5 separate regions of the Homo sapiens genome follow, and regions 1, 3, 4 and 5 are each linked to region 2. Evidence: promoter capture Hi-C in human tissues and cell types (Jung and others, 2019). All regions are on one chromosome and are shown on one strand. The core of a region is centred on a gene start or on the middle of the fragment in contact, and the rest is flanking DNA. Distances in the headings are between cores, read along the strand shown. Region 1 overlaps DGKG (diacylglycerol kinase gamma). Region 2 holds the start of ETV5 (ETS variant transcription factor 5). Region 3 overlaps DGKG (diacylglycerol kinase gamma). Region 4 overlaps DGKG (diacylglycerol kinase gamma). Region 5 overlaps DGKG (diacylglycerol kinase gamma).

The links. Contacts are between HindIII fragments. The study calls those that stand out against the background at their distance.
Region 1: a contact is called between a fragment that was not itself captured here and the fragment with the promoter of ETV5 in region 2, in 6 of the 25 tissues and cell types used here (dorsolateral prefrontal cortex, hippocampus, lymphoblastoid cells and 3 more).
Region 3: a contact is called between a fragment that was not itself captured here and the fragment with the promoter of ETV5 in region 2, in 1 of the 25 tissues and cell types used here (hippocampus).
Region 4: a contact is called between a fragment that was not itself captured here and the fragment with the promoter of ETV5 in region 2, in 1 of the 25 tissues and cell types used here (spleen).
Region 5: a contact is called between a fragment that was not itself captured here and the fragment with the promoter of ETV5 in region 2, in 1 of the 25 tissues and cell types used here (hippocampus).

The regions. Positions count from the first base shown.
Region 1 is chr3:186,236,866-186,239,565 of GRCh38, forward strand. All of the region lies in intron 20 of DGKG (diacylglycerol kinase gamma), which reads right to left. Among named protein-coding and RNA genes, the nearest start is that of DGKG, 120 kb to the right of the region's middle. The HindIII fragment of the contact is 7,185 bases long and covers 1-2,700 here.
Region 2 is chr3:186,107,685-186,110,384 of GRCh38, forward strand. It overlaps ETV5 (ETS variant transcription factor 5), which reads right to left and starts at 1,405. Exons shown (of 13, transcript NM_004454.3): 1 at 1,256-1,405. RefSeq lists enhancers at 128-187, 946-1,924 and silencers at 958-1,057, 1,088-1,717. The HindIII fragment of the contact is 3,753 bases long and covers 75-2,700 here.
Region 3 is chr3:186,346,435-186,349,134 of GRCh38, forward strand. The region is part of intron 1 of DGKG (diacylglycerol kinase gamma); the gene reads right to left. Among named protein-coding and RNA genes, the nearest start is that of DGKG, 14 kb to the right of the region's middle. The HindIII fragment of the contact is 4,747 bases long and covers 1-2,700 here.
Region 4 is chr3:186,330,073-186,332,772 of GRCh38, forward strand. The region is part of intron 1 of DGKG (diacylglycerol kinase gamma); the gene reads right to left. Among named protein-coding and RNA genes, the nearest start is that of DGKG, 31 kb to the right of the region's middle. The HindIII fragment of the contact is 7,911 bases long and covers 1-2,700 here.
Region 5 is chr3:186,273,232-186,275,931 of GRCh38, forward strand. DGKG (diacylglycerol kinase gamma) reads right to left here. Exons shown (of 25, transcript NM_001346.3): 10 at 2,316-2,433. Among named protein-coding and RNA genes, the nearest start is that of DGKG, 88 kb to the right of the region's middle. The HindIII fragment of the contact is 6,398 bases long and covers 1-2,700 here.

The DNA.
Region 1 (2,700 bases), core at 113-2,612, 130 kb after region 2:
TTTAGAATAACACATTCCGCAAGTACTCTGAGTTTCTAACCAACAATGAAAACATTCCACAGTTAGACTTCTCTTTCTAGACACTCACTGACAGTGACATTAGAATTAGGTGGCTTTTATGTATAGATTTCATATGCAAAACCCTTCATGGAGACTTAATCTGGAAACTTCATGGTGGGCTGGTTTTTGGCTATCTGGAAGACTTTGACGGGATTCTTGGCTCCTCTGCTAGTACTGATTGCTGCCTGTTTGTGGGACTGAGAGTCCCTCTCCTTCTCCCTAAGTTGAAACCCTCTTTCCTCCATTCTTTTGACTTTATTGCAAACACCCTACTCTGTGACTACTGGCAAAAGTGTCTTCTTTTTATTAATTCCTCTGTCCTTGCCAGGGCCACCTCATAGGTGTGAGATGTGGACTCCAGGGCCCCACACTTAAGAGGGCTCAGTGCTTAGTTTAATGCTTTGCTGTCCCATTTTTGAGGAAGGGGCCTCACATTTTTAATTTTGCACTGGGTCACACAGATCATACAGCCAGTCCTGCTCCTTGCTGTGGACGTGGAAACAGGGAGAATGCTCACACCATACAAGGTATGACTGGATGGTGTACCTGTTCTCCTCCCCTTTGGAACTCAGCAGGCATTTTCCCACAGAGACAATCCATAAAGGCAGATGATGCCAATGACAGCTCCATCCTCCTTAGCCTCAGTTCCTTCATTTCTAAAATGGGGACAGTAGCACTTACCCTTGCATGTTATTGTGAGCAATGAGTGGGATGATGTATAAAGTACTTATCAGAGTGTCTGGTATACATCAGTGCTTGCTCAATGAAATCTATGTGAGACAGCAGTTGCGGCAAACAGAGCTTGGACTCTGGAGTGAAGAGCTAGGTCAGAAATTAAATTAGCCCCACTGCCTAAAAAATACATGACTTTTGTTAGTTGACTTGGTTTCTTCCAGTGTCAGTTCCTTTATCTGTAAATGGGAATGCTAATATTTATCTTGAAAGGTTGTTTTGTGATTTAAATAATTTAATGTATTTAAAGACCCTAGTTCACCACTTGGCATCTAGGAGGAGCTAAAAAAATGAAAACAGTTCTTAGTCAGGTTCCCCTTTAACACTATTGCTACACCTAAAACAACCAATTTGGCCAGGAGTGGTGGCTCACACCTGTAATCCCAGCACTTTCGGAGGCCATGGCAGGCAAATCACTTGAGGTCAGGAGTTCAAGACCAGGCTTGCTGACATGGTGAAACCCCATCTCTACTAAAAATAGGAAGAAAAGTTAGCCAGGCGTGGTGGTGTGTGCCTTTAATCCCACCTACTCAGGAGGCTGTGTAGGAAAATCACCTGAACCTGAGAGGCAAAGGTTGCAGTGAGCCAAGATCACACCACTGCACTCCAGGCCAGGTGACAGAATGACTCTTTCTAAAAAAAAAAAAAAAAAAAAAAAGACCAAAAACATCCCCCAAAAAGAAAACAATCCATTTGCAAATGATGTTTGGGATATGACCATTAATAAGTTCTTACATATTATACGACTTCCTGTATACTATATCACCTATGAAATGTAACCACCTTGTATGTTAAAATAATTTTGTAAAGAATACTTGAGCACTATTTTTCCTTTTCTTTTGCTAGACGACGATTTCCTTGAAGGCAGGGGCCACATCTTATGTGCCCTTTATTCCAGATCACTTTCAAACACTTTAGAATCTCAGTTGAATCAAATTTCTCTTTTGTTCTTTATGCCAACAGTGAGACGATAATCTCCCTAACATTCCTCAATTAGCAATTAATGATTAGCCTATTGATAACTAGGAGGTAGACAGGGCCAAAAATAACCCCATCTCTGCCGTTAAAGGCCTTTTCTTTTTTGCCCATCATACATGGCTCGTATTCCTGCCTCCTCGGTTCTGGTTCTTGCTCCATTAATGAAACTATTCCATCAGAGAACATAACTTGGTTTTCTGGAACCCACTATCTTCCCTGGCAACAACCCATCTAGAGAGGCCATGGAGGAAGAATTTCCTGAAACCCCAACATTTGAGTCATAATTTGATGCCTCTTAGGATTCAAAGAGGCCTCAGACCTGTGACTTTTAAACATTTTGGGAGTATAGGTTCCTTTAAGAATCTTCTGATAGTTATGGACATTCTCTGCAGAAAAATACATTCAGTACCTTAGTACAATTTCAAGGTGTTCTCAAAACCCCTGAAGCCCTTGGATCCCAGGTTAAGAATTCTTGTTAGAATAGCCAAGAAAAGGGAATCAGCAACGTGAATGATTCCGGTTTCCTGGTAAGTGTTCCGGACCTGACTAGTCACTCTCCCTTGCTGAAAACAAAACAAAACAGAACAAAACACAGCAATGACAACTCCCAAGATTTAACCTCAAGATTATCCCTGAGAGTCCAAACCTGGGCAGTAATGGTAAAGGCTTCCGGCCAAGCAGTAACTACTCTTTGGAGAACCTCAGTTCAGCTGAGTAAAATAGGCCTTGTTTGATAATGCCGTTTACATTTCCAAATCCTGGGTATCAAGCTTTCTTCCTATGCCTTGCGGCCTTTCCTAAGTTTAGCCGCTGGTGTAATGGGGTAACCATGGCAACAACCACCTGCCTATTTAAAACCATCTCCAATGCTAAATAAGGAAGCCTGAAGAAAATGGCTGCTTGCCTGCCTCTCAGTGGACAAATTGGGCA
Region 2 (2,700 bases), core at 155-2,654:
CGCCCCCAGGAAAACTTTAGCACAGCGCAGCGGCGCGATCCAGGCCCCTCCCCTGTGGCGCGCAGCGGGCCCGGTTTTATGAATGGGAGAGCGAGCCGCGGCCGCCACATCAGGTAGAGGCTGTAACTGGATCTCTAGCGCTGGGCCCCATTCACAAAACAAGACACACTTCCACCCAATTCTCAGCCTTCCCCATTCATGAAAACTCCTTCAGCTGCGCCCCCGCCCCCATTTCCAACGCACGCCCAGCCTCCGACGCAGGCCCCTCACCCCAGCGTTTTAGGAAGAAAGCTCAATGCTTCATTCACAAAAAGGGAAGAAAAAAAAAAAAGCCGCAGGGAGCAGCGAGCCAACGAAAGAAACCCGCTTCATTCATAAAGTCACCCACATTCATAAAAACGAGGTGCGGCGCCCGGCGCTACCAACCGCTTCCAATCCCCCCACCCCCAACATCTCTCCCTGGCACCCCCTCGTCGACCAGGAGTTCGGTTCCCCCCCGAGTTTTCTCCACCCTCTGAAAATGCGGCCGGAACCCTAATCCGCTGCGAGGCTGCAGCATCTTTCGGTGCTGTCCCCTCCACACCCGTGTTATCCCCACCATCCCCAGGCCGCTGTTCCGGTGCGCCCCGATTTTCTCGAGTCGCCGCACAGCCGGACGCCCTCAGCCTGCTGGGTGGGAGCAGGGCGACTGGATGTCCACTTTCCACCACCTGAAACTTGCAAGGCCTGCGTAAGTTCCTGGTCGACCCCCGCCCCCGCAGGCTGCACTTGCCTGTGTCATTTACCCCCTCCCGGTGCTCTGGGGGGCAGCGCCTCTCAGACATTCCCCTCAAACTGCTTCCCGCCCCCTCCTCCCAACTGCGGAGCTCCGCCAAGCGTCTCTTCTCGCGAGCCTCCAAGTCCCCTCGGGGCTCTCGAATCTCCAGAGACTGTGAAAGCCTCGCAACTCCGCGATCCCCCATCCACTCGGGAGCCCCCGCACTCGCGCTCCGGGGCGCCTCCCCCACGACGTGTGGAAAGCCGCTCTCCCCGCGCTCCGGAACCGTTAGCCGCACCCGCCCGACGCCTCCCAGGAACCAAACCGGACCGGGCCGCGGGGGGAGGGGGCGGTCAACCCGGGGGGGGTCACCCCAGCTACTGCACCCCGACTTTGAAGATTCTGAATCAGCCCGTGAACTCTAGCCGGCTGGGCCTGTCGGACCAGTGGCCGGACGCCCCTTCCGATCTCCCCCCTGCCCCCGCAAAGCCCCCTCACCTGAGGCGGCCTCTCTCCTCCCCTTGCAGCGGCCCCGGCGGCGCAGGCGCGCTCACGCACGCGCGCAGCGGGCCTGGGCGCCTGGGCGAAAGGCTGGGCCGAACCGCTCCGAAGACGGTGAACCGCTCCGCGCACCAGCGGCTGGACTCTGCGCCGCAGCTGCCAACCAGGCTGGAGCGCTGGCCCGGCCCCCCGCGGCTCGCTGCTCCGCCCGCCGCCATTGGCCCGCGGCCCTAGCCCAGCCTTGTTCCCATTGGCCAGAGGCCGTTCCCGCGGCTGTCCATCACCTCTTGTTTACCCTGTCTGCGGGCAAATCCAACCAAGCCGCCCCATCAACTCCGGCCCCCATTGGCCAGCGGTGCATCTCTCTCCACCCCCTCAGGGGTCTGTTTTACATAATTTATGCACCGGGGGCCATTGGCCAATCAGCACAGGCTTGTTTATATAATGAATGTAAGGACGTTTTTCATTCATAAAAAACGCGACCTGAGGGGGAAGCTTAGCTGAGTCAGTGAAGCACTTAAAGGGGCCGAGGCCAGGAGGAGCCGCCGTTACTTCCCTTCTCGCCGCTCTCCCGACTTTTCACCGAGGCACGACTCTTCCCCCTTACCCACTCACCCCCACTTCTCCATCCAGCAAAGCCCCGACCAGAATTGGGTCTCTTGGCGCCAGACGTTCGCAGCTGCAGCACCAAGCAAAGTTATCATTTTAGAATTCAGGGGAGAGGAATTCGTCATTCCACACAAACTCGCTGACCGACCTGGGCGTTTAGCCCACAGAAACACAGAAAACGGAAACCGAGCCCTCTAATCTTAGTTACCTTTAAGAGAGGCCTTAATTTCTTTTAACCAGGTTTCCAGTGGGAAGAATAAGCAGCATCTCCTTTTAAAATCTCAGCTCTCAAACAGATTTTTGTTACTATTTTGTACTGGCAAGGCCTAAGACCCAACCAAATCCCGTTTTCTCTTTAACTGCGGCTCGTAACCTCCGCCAGAGTGGGTTCTGTAGTCGAGGTGAGACAGGGTTCGGGCTCAAAGAAATCCTCTCCGGGGACAGCAGCAGCCAGTCCACCGACCTGGAAACCTAAATCCCTCCGAAACGGGCATGCAGACTCAGACTTTTTGCCTCCCTCCCCGGGCTGCTTGTTTTCCATTTAAGTATTGAATGCAAGATGGTGTATTTGCGAATTAGATCCCGTGCAGCTGGGAACGACGAGAAGCGGCTCTGCTTGCCAAACGATAGGGCACTAACTGCAATTGCTGAGATTCTTAACAGGGTGTTCCAGGAAACAAATAAACAAACAATCCTCTCCCCTCTCCGCCCCCTTACCCCCTCCTGTGAAGGCCGTGGGGCGGCTCTATCTTCTCTCCGGGGATGCTGGGGGCCTGTGACGGAGCTCTGTTCTCGTCCTGCTGGAGTGCCCTGCCATTCACGCCGCGTGCCAG
Region 3 (2,700 bases), core at 87-2,586, 240 kb after region 2:
TATTATTTACTCCCTTATTTTACATTTCCTTTAATTCCTATATGTTTTACTCTTTATTCATTCTTAAAGAAGGAAGCATTCTATAAACTTGGTGCTTGTCAAACAACAGGTCTTTTTGGTCTTGTTCTCACTGAATGCTGAAATCAATAATGGTGAGTGGATGTACACAGGTCTTAGACCTACATCAAATTTCAAGAATAGATTATCCTAGAGTAACTATGCTATACTATACTATACTATACTATACTCAGTTTTATTTGCCTCTTACTGCCAGAACAAGTTCTACATTTTTTGAAATGTATCATAATTTTTTTACGATGGGATCAAAATATCTCAATATTTCATAAACATTTTAATAGATTTTTTCATTTCTTAAATGTAAAGTCCCATATATGTCCATTCCATCAAGCTCCTTATAGCCTTAAAACTTTTATACACTAATTTGTTTTTGGCACTCAATTTGTTGCAGATTGACAGATGTATGTTAGATTTTCCCTCTGCAATTGTGTTTTGACAATTTTATTGTATCATTTAATGATTTTTGTATTAAATTTTACTTTTAGCTATAGTTTAATACTAATATCACCCTCCTTTCTTTTTGTTTGCATTTTCCTGATATATCTATGTCCCTTCATTTTTTATCCCTTTCTCTCCCATTTTGTTTAAAACAGCATATATTTAGAATTGGGTTTTGACCAATGCGTGGTTCTTTGTCTTTTAATAGAAATGATTGGCCAGGCGGGGCGGCTCACCCCCGTAATCCTAGCACTTTGGGAGGCCGAGGCGGGCGGATCACGAGGTCAGGAGATCGAGACCACTCTGGCTAACACGGTGAAACCCTGTCTCTACTAAAAATACAAAAAATTAGCCAGGCATGGTGGCACGCGCCTGCAGTCCTAGCTACTTGGGAGGCTGAGGCAGGAGAATTGCTTGAACCCGGGAGGCAGAGGTTGCAGTGAGCCGAGACCACAGCCGCTGCACTCCAGCCTGGGCGACAGAGTGAGACTCAGTCTCAAAAAAAAAAAAAAAAAAAAAAGGAAATGATTAAACCATTCACACTTAATGTGGTATGTTTGACCTGGCTTCTATCATCTTATTTTATACTTTTTATATTAATGTTTCCTTGCTATTTCCTTTTTTACGTATTTTTTTTCTTTTCTTTTTTTGAGGCAGAGTCTCACCGTGTTGCTCAAGCTGGAAGTGCAGTGGCACAATCTTGGCTCACTGCAACATCTGCCTCCTGGGTTCAAGTGTTCTCCTGCCTCAGCCTCCTGAGTAGCTGGGATTATAGATGCCCACCACCACGCTAGGCTAATTTTTGTATTTTTAGTAGAGACCAGGTTTCACCATGTCAGCCAGGCTGGTCTCAAACTCCTGACCTCAAGTGATCCACCCACCTTGGCCTCCTGAAGCGCTGGGATTACAGGCATGAGCCTCCGCACCCAGCCCTTTTTTAGTTTTCATTCTTGGCTATAATGTTCCAAATCTTCCTCCTAATTTTGAAGTTAAGCATGGTATTTCTAGTTTTATATTCATCTACTGTCTTCTTATTTAAAAATGTATTTAAACCTGTATTTTTCTGTGTTCAGCAATGAAACAATATTCAATGTTTCCCACAGCACAAAATGAGACATTCAGCACATCAAGGTTTTTTGCCTTGAGTAATCTGAGTTTTTAGCCCCACATTATTATCATTAAGTTTCTTATGTATCTTCTTTGTTGAGAGTAATTTTGGCAGTTGCATTGTTTCCTGACTATATTAATAACATGTAAATACTAAGTCTATGTTTGTGTGGGTTTATTATTCACGCCACAGCTTTGATATCACATCTTTTCCATTCCCAAGCTTTAATGTTAATTTCTCTGTTGACCAGAATAGTTTGAGTAAATACATTTTTTAATAAAGGATTTTAGTGGCCTACTTGCTGGGTGCTTTTTTTTTTTTTTTTTTCCTTGTCTGAGAATAGCTTTTTTTTTTCTGTACAAATTACTGAATAGAGAATTCTGGCTCATAATCTTTTTTTTTTTTTTTTTTTTGAGATAGGGTCTCACTGTTGTTCAGGCTGGAGTGCAGTGCTGTGATCACGGCTCACTGCAGTCTGCACCTCTTGGGCTCAGGTGATCCTTCCACCTCAGCCTCCCAAGTAGCTGGGACTCCAGGTGAACATCACCATTCCTGGCTAATTTTTGTATTTTTAGTAGAGGTGGGGTTTTGCCATGTTGGCCAGGCTGGTCTCAAACTCCTGGGCTCAAGTGACTGCCTGCCTTGGCCTCCCCAAGTGCTTGATTTATAGGCATGAGCCACGGCACCGGTTGGTTCATTATCTTACTACCCCCAAATTCCACAGTCATACCTCAACTTATTTCTGATATTTAGTGTTGCACAATGTCTGACACTTGCTTATTTTTTCTCTGAAAATAAAACATTGTTTTTCTGTTTTCATACCAACAGATTTTTTCTTATAATTAATAATTTTCACCAGAATATACTTTTAATTTTTCCTGGTACACATTAACTATTTTGAAGTAATGTCAGGAAATTTTTTTTTATTTAAAAATTATTTAAATTTAAGTTCTGGGATACATGTGGAGAATAGGCAGGTTTGTTACATAGGTACACATGTGTCACGGTAAATTAAATTAAAAAAAAAAATTAGAGACAGGTCTCGCTCTGTCACTCAGGCTGGAGTGCCATGTCAC
Region 4 (2,700 bases), core at 136-2,635, 220 kb after region 2:
CCTATAGAGGAGGAACTGGGTGATAAAAAGAATTCAAGAAGAACAGAAGATGCAAGTTGCAGTACAATTGTTGATAGTATCACTTACAAGTCACTTAATTTACCATAAAATATACATCAACACTCACATTTTATATTAAAATAATGACCTACACAAGTATAGGCTATCAGGGTTATAAAGTTATAACAGATATAGACTTATAATCAAGTTACTTTATTATGCTTAATCTGATAGTATTTTGTAAGTTACATAAGTTGCTTGAATTTATCAATGAACTGTCACTATTGTGGTCGTCATTTACATTGGTGGTCCCCCAAACCATGCTTCCTGATATTTATGCCCTTTCTAGTTTCTTCCCTTGAGTCCGGGCTGCACCTGTAACTTGCCCTAACCAAGAGAGTGCATTAGAAGTGGTGCTGTGCCTGTGTCAAGCATAAGCCTTGAGAAGGCCCACTTCTGAGTTCCTAAGGGCACTGAACTGCCATGTAAGAAGTTCAGCCATTTTGCTGGAGAGATCACATAGAGACCACATGGAGAGGCCACGTGGATGAAGGGAGATCTAACATTACAGAGAGGAGAACTGAGCAACCCATCTGATGACAAGAACTGAAGCCCAAGATGTAAGACCCCAGTCAAGCCATTCCAGCCAGCACCCAGTCATCTAAGTCATCCTAGCTGTGTTGTGAGACAAGAAGCCATTTGGGATTTCACAGCCTTGGCAGACATCACACGTGGAGCAGAGATAACCCATCCCCGCTCAGCCTGGTCTGGATTCCCAATGCACAGAAACACATAGACGAATAACATAATTGTGGAGCAACAAGATTTTGGGGCAGTTAGTTATGTAATCGTAGATAACCAAGACAACTACACAAGCACTTTTAGGGGCAGGTTATGCATGTGTCTATTTGGCAACAGAATCTGCATGATTCATGCTTGAACTGCAACTTATTCATGTCTTAAAATCTAGTAGTTGGAAAATTATAGGCTAAAAATACCTTCGATGCAAATATGTATCACTGCCTGCTGTAGGGTTAGCCAAATATCCTTCACAAACTAATATGATAATTATGAAGTCAAGTGAACTATAATTTCTAATTAATAAGCAAGAATAGCAGTAGCTGAAAACCACAACCAACTCAAAGCAAGACTGACATGCAATGACAACAACGGGGCCTTCCCCAGGTCACAGGATTCTAACCATCTACTTGAGTGTGGGGGCTGTAGCTGCTGAGCATTTAGAAGCAGCCTGATTTCACAGATAACTGAATTAAAGCCCTTGGGGAACTTTGCAATGATCTAATTTAAGTTTATGAGTGGTAAATATGAGTAATACCTAATAACTCATTTAGCATATTACTGGCATGTAGTCCTTAAATAAACATAAACACAAAAGTCTTGGGATTGCATTCTATCCATAAGAATTCAGAGAGGATTTTCATTTGAGAGGTACTTTGTACACCATTAGTGGCCTCAGAGTGAATGTGAGAATCTCTGCCGCAAGATAGTCATGAAAATGTCAGGCTGAACCAAATGCCCAGGTGGGGGAGCTGGGAGTGGCTGGTACCCAGAAAAAGCTTTTGGGCTCCAAGGAGAAGTTGAGGACTGCTACTTTGGGGGTCTGTCTTTGGCACAGGCAGGCAGTGTTGGTCTAAGAAGAGTGTTTGTAGCTCAGGGGCATCACAATCTGAGGATTGGTCATTCATTCATTTGTTCACTTGCTCAACAAATCACTGTAATAACAAGCAATAGCAGCAACCTCCATTTATAGATTGCAACACATCTTGCGCTTTGCAAACTTCATCTGTAATAGTCACCAAACCCTGTGAGGAACGTATGTTTTATGCCCATTTAACATCTGTAGAAGCAGGCCCAGAGTAATTCTCCCAAGTTATCCTACTAGTAAATGATGAGACTGTATAGGAATCTAAGTCTGTGTTGTTCAAAGCTCATGGTAACATCTTTGGATGAATGAGTGCTGAGTACCTAAGTGTTGAGCCTGTGCAGGTACAGATGCCATTAATAAGCCACCTGTGGAGATGCCACGCCCTGGTCCTCAACATGGAAGGGGAATGGAAGCCAGAATAAAAACCATGGCCTGTTCCTGAAAAGCCAACATTATTTGAGGGAGGAAAAGCTATATTATATTAAACATGAGCACAGAATGGAATAGAATGCAAAATATCCAGGAAATTTGTAGGCAAAACATGGGACTTCGAAAGAAAACCTTGCTCTTGCCCTGGGGCCACCTCTGTGAATCCTGGGAGAGTTCACTCAGCTTCACCACTTGGGGCCCTTAACAGTGGAAATTTAAGGAAGCAGGGTTGTGAATAGCAATGGAAAAGTCTGATTCTGAACTCCAGTGCTGAGGGGCTGATGTAGGGAAGGGATTGTGAGTAGAGGTCTCCTTTATGAAATTACTACCTGGGGAAGCGTCTGCCCTAGACTCATGCCCTGTGTCAGGGAGACTTCTGCCCAGAGCACCAAGCACAAGTCTGACTTTGGAATTAGAGACCAGAATTCAGATCTTGGCTCTATCCTATATAACTGTGTGACATTAGCAAGTTCTTCTTCATCTCTAAATGGGAATGGTGAAAATATTAACACATGCTTCCCAAGGTTATTATGAGATTATTTGTATAATGTTTATTATGGTTTGAATGTTTGTCCTCTCCAAAATTCATGTTGAAATTTAATCTC
Region 5 (2,700 bases), core at 130-2,629, 170 kb after region 2:
TTATTGCTGTTGTTTTTACTACCATTATGTGAACAGCAGAGGCCCACGGGCCTAGAACTTAATGGGAATGAGATTGATCTATAAAATGTGGGTAAGAGCTGGGTTTGAACTGGCGCTGGGGAGACTGTTGTACCCCTTTTTTTTTTTTTTTTTTTTTTTTTTGAGATAGAATCTCACCCTTTCACCAGGCTGGAGTGCAGTGATGCAATCTCGGCTCACCGCAACCTCCGACTCCCTGGTTCAAGTGATTTTCCTGCCTCAGCCTCCCGAGTAGCTGGGATTACAAGCATGCGCCACCATGCCCAGCTAATTTTTGTATTTTTAGTAGGGACGGGGTTTCACCATGTTGGCCAAGATGATCTTGGTCTCCTGACCTCGTGATCCACCCGTCTTGGCCTCCCAAAGTGCTGGGATTACGGCGTGAATCACCGCGCCAGGCCTGGCGGACCCCTTCTTTAGCCCGTTGATGCTTGGTCTTTGTGGACAGCGGGCCCAGCTCTGCCAAGGCGACTTCTGTGGCTGAGGTCACTTGCTGCCTAATTCACACGTGCATGTTGGATAAAGCACTTCAGCCTGGAGCACAGCCAGCGGGCCTCCCTGCAGCAGCAGCTCCCCGGTGTCTGGTGGGTTCAGGCTGAGTGTTGCTGTCCACATCACGGGGCGGGCGGCAGGGCTCTGTGCACCCACATATTCTGGTGCCTGCCATGCCTTCTTGCTGCAGCCCCTCTGCCTTCTCCTCCTGCTCCCTGTGTCCCCTTCTTTCCTACTCCTTATCACTCTTTTCCCCCATCTCTTTTTGCTGTCTCCCTTTCCAGTCTTCCTCTCTGCTTTTTCCTCTACCACTTGTAGTTTTTTCCACCTTTCCACTCTGACTTTACTAAAGGAATTAAAAAGTGAAACAACTGTAGAGTTTTAATTCCTATTGCCTTTACAGAATGTAAAATGCTTTTTTTGTTTGTTTGTTTTTTGTTTTTGAGACAGGGTTTCACTCCGTCATCCAAGCTGGAGTGCAGTGGTGCAATCTCAGCTCACCGCAACCTCTGCCTCCTGGGCTCGAGTGATCCTCCCACCTCAGCCTCCTGAGTAGCTGGGATTACAGGCGCATGCCACCATGCCCAGCTAATTTTTTTTTAGTATTTTTATTTTTTATTTTTTTATTTTTATTTTTTATTATACATTAAGTTCTAGGGTACATGTGCACAATGTGCAGGTTTGTTACATGTGTATACATATGCCATGTTGGTGTGCTACACCCATTAACTCATCATTTACATTAGGTATATCTCCTAATGCTATCCCTCCCCCCTCCCCCCACCCCACGACAGGCCCCAGTGTGTGATGTTCCCCACTCTGTGTCCAAGTGTTCTCATTGTCCAATTCCCACCTATGAGTGAGAACATGCGGTGTTTGGTTTTATGATCTTGCGATAGTTTGCTCAGAATGATGGTTTCCAGCTTCATCCATGTCCCTACAAAGGACGTGAACTCATCCTTTTTTATGGCTGCATAGTATTCTATGGTATATATGTGCCACATTTTCTTAATCCAATCTATCATTGATGGACATTTGGGTTGGTTCTAAGTCTTTGCTGTTGTGAATAGTGCCACAATAAACATACGTGTGCATGTGTCTTTATAGCAGCATGATTTATAATCCTTTGGGTATATGCCCAGTAATGGGATGGCTGGGTCAAATGGTATTTCTAGTTCTAGATCCTTGAGGAATCGCCACACTGTCTTCCACAATGGTTGAACTAGTTTACAGTCCCACCAACAGTGTAAAAGTGTTCCTATTTCTCCACATCCTTTCCAGCACCTTAGTATTTTTAGTAGGGACAAGGTTTCTCCATGTTGGCAGGGCCGGTCTTAAACTACAGGCCTCAAGCAATCCACCTGCTTCTGCCTCCCAAAGTGCTGGGATTTCAGGTGTGAGCCACCGTACTTGGCCCCAAATGCTTATTAATTTTTAAAAAATAAGTTTCCTCTGAACATACCCAGAATAAATATTGACTAGAAAACCCAACTAAAAGTAGTATGAGAAATTTTAAATTATTTGTGGACTTTAATAATTTCTTCTAGGGGGTCAGTGGCTCATAAAAAGCCTCCAATAATAAATAGTCCAAGACCTGTCCATTGGACTTGGGTAGGGTAAAAACAGGACATGAAGGCCTCGCTTTATTCCTTCTGTTGGGACAATATGGGTGGTCCCTCAAGCTGGGAAGCAGAAATACCAACATTTTCTCTGCAATGGATCAACCAACCATGCGCAGAGCAAGATAGTGCCTGGGGGAAGAGGTTTGAAGGAAATTTACTCACAAGTGCAGCACAGGCCTTGCTTGCGGACGCCCATGAGCATGATATGGCAGAAGTTGCAGTAGGTTGGTTTCTTGAAGTGCTTCATGGTCCAGGCGTGCCGCCCATCCCCCTTGGAGCCCTGCAGGGGTAATAGGAGGTGAGACCCCAAGCTGGCTGCCCTGAGATGGAGGAAGCCAGGGGCTGCCTCTTGCATGTTCTTCCTTTTCATCTCATTTAGAAGATGAGTTATTGATATTTTTTACTGTTTTAAATACAAATAAAAACAAAATTTTTGTGTGTGTGTTTTAAAAATTAGCAAATATTAAAAGCAAGAAACATCTGAATGGAAGCATGTGTGTGTGGGATAAAATAAATCCTCTCCCGCATGGCTGGCAGAAGCATAAAC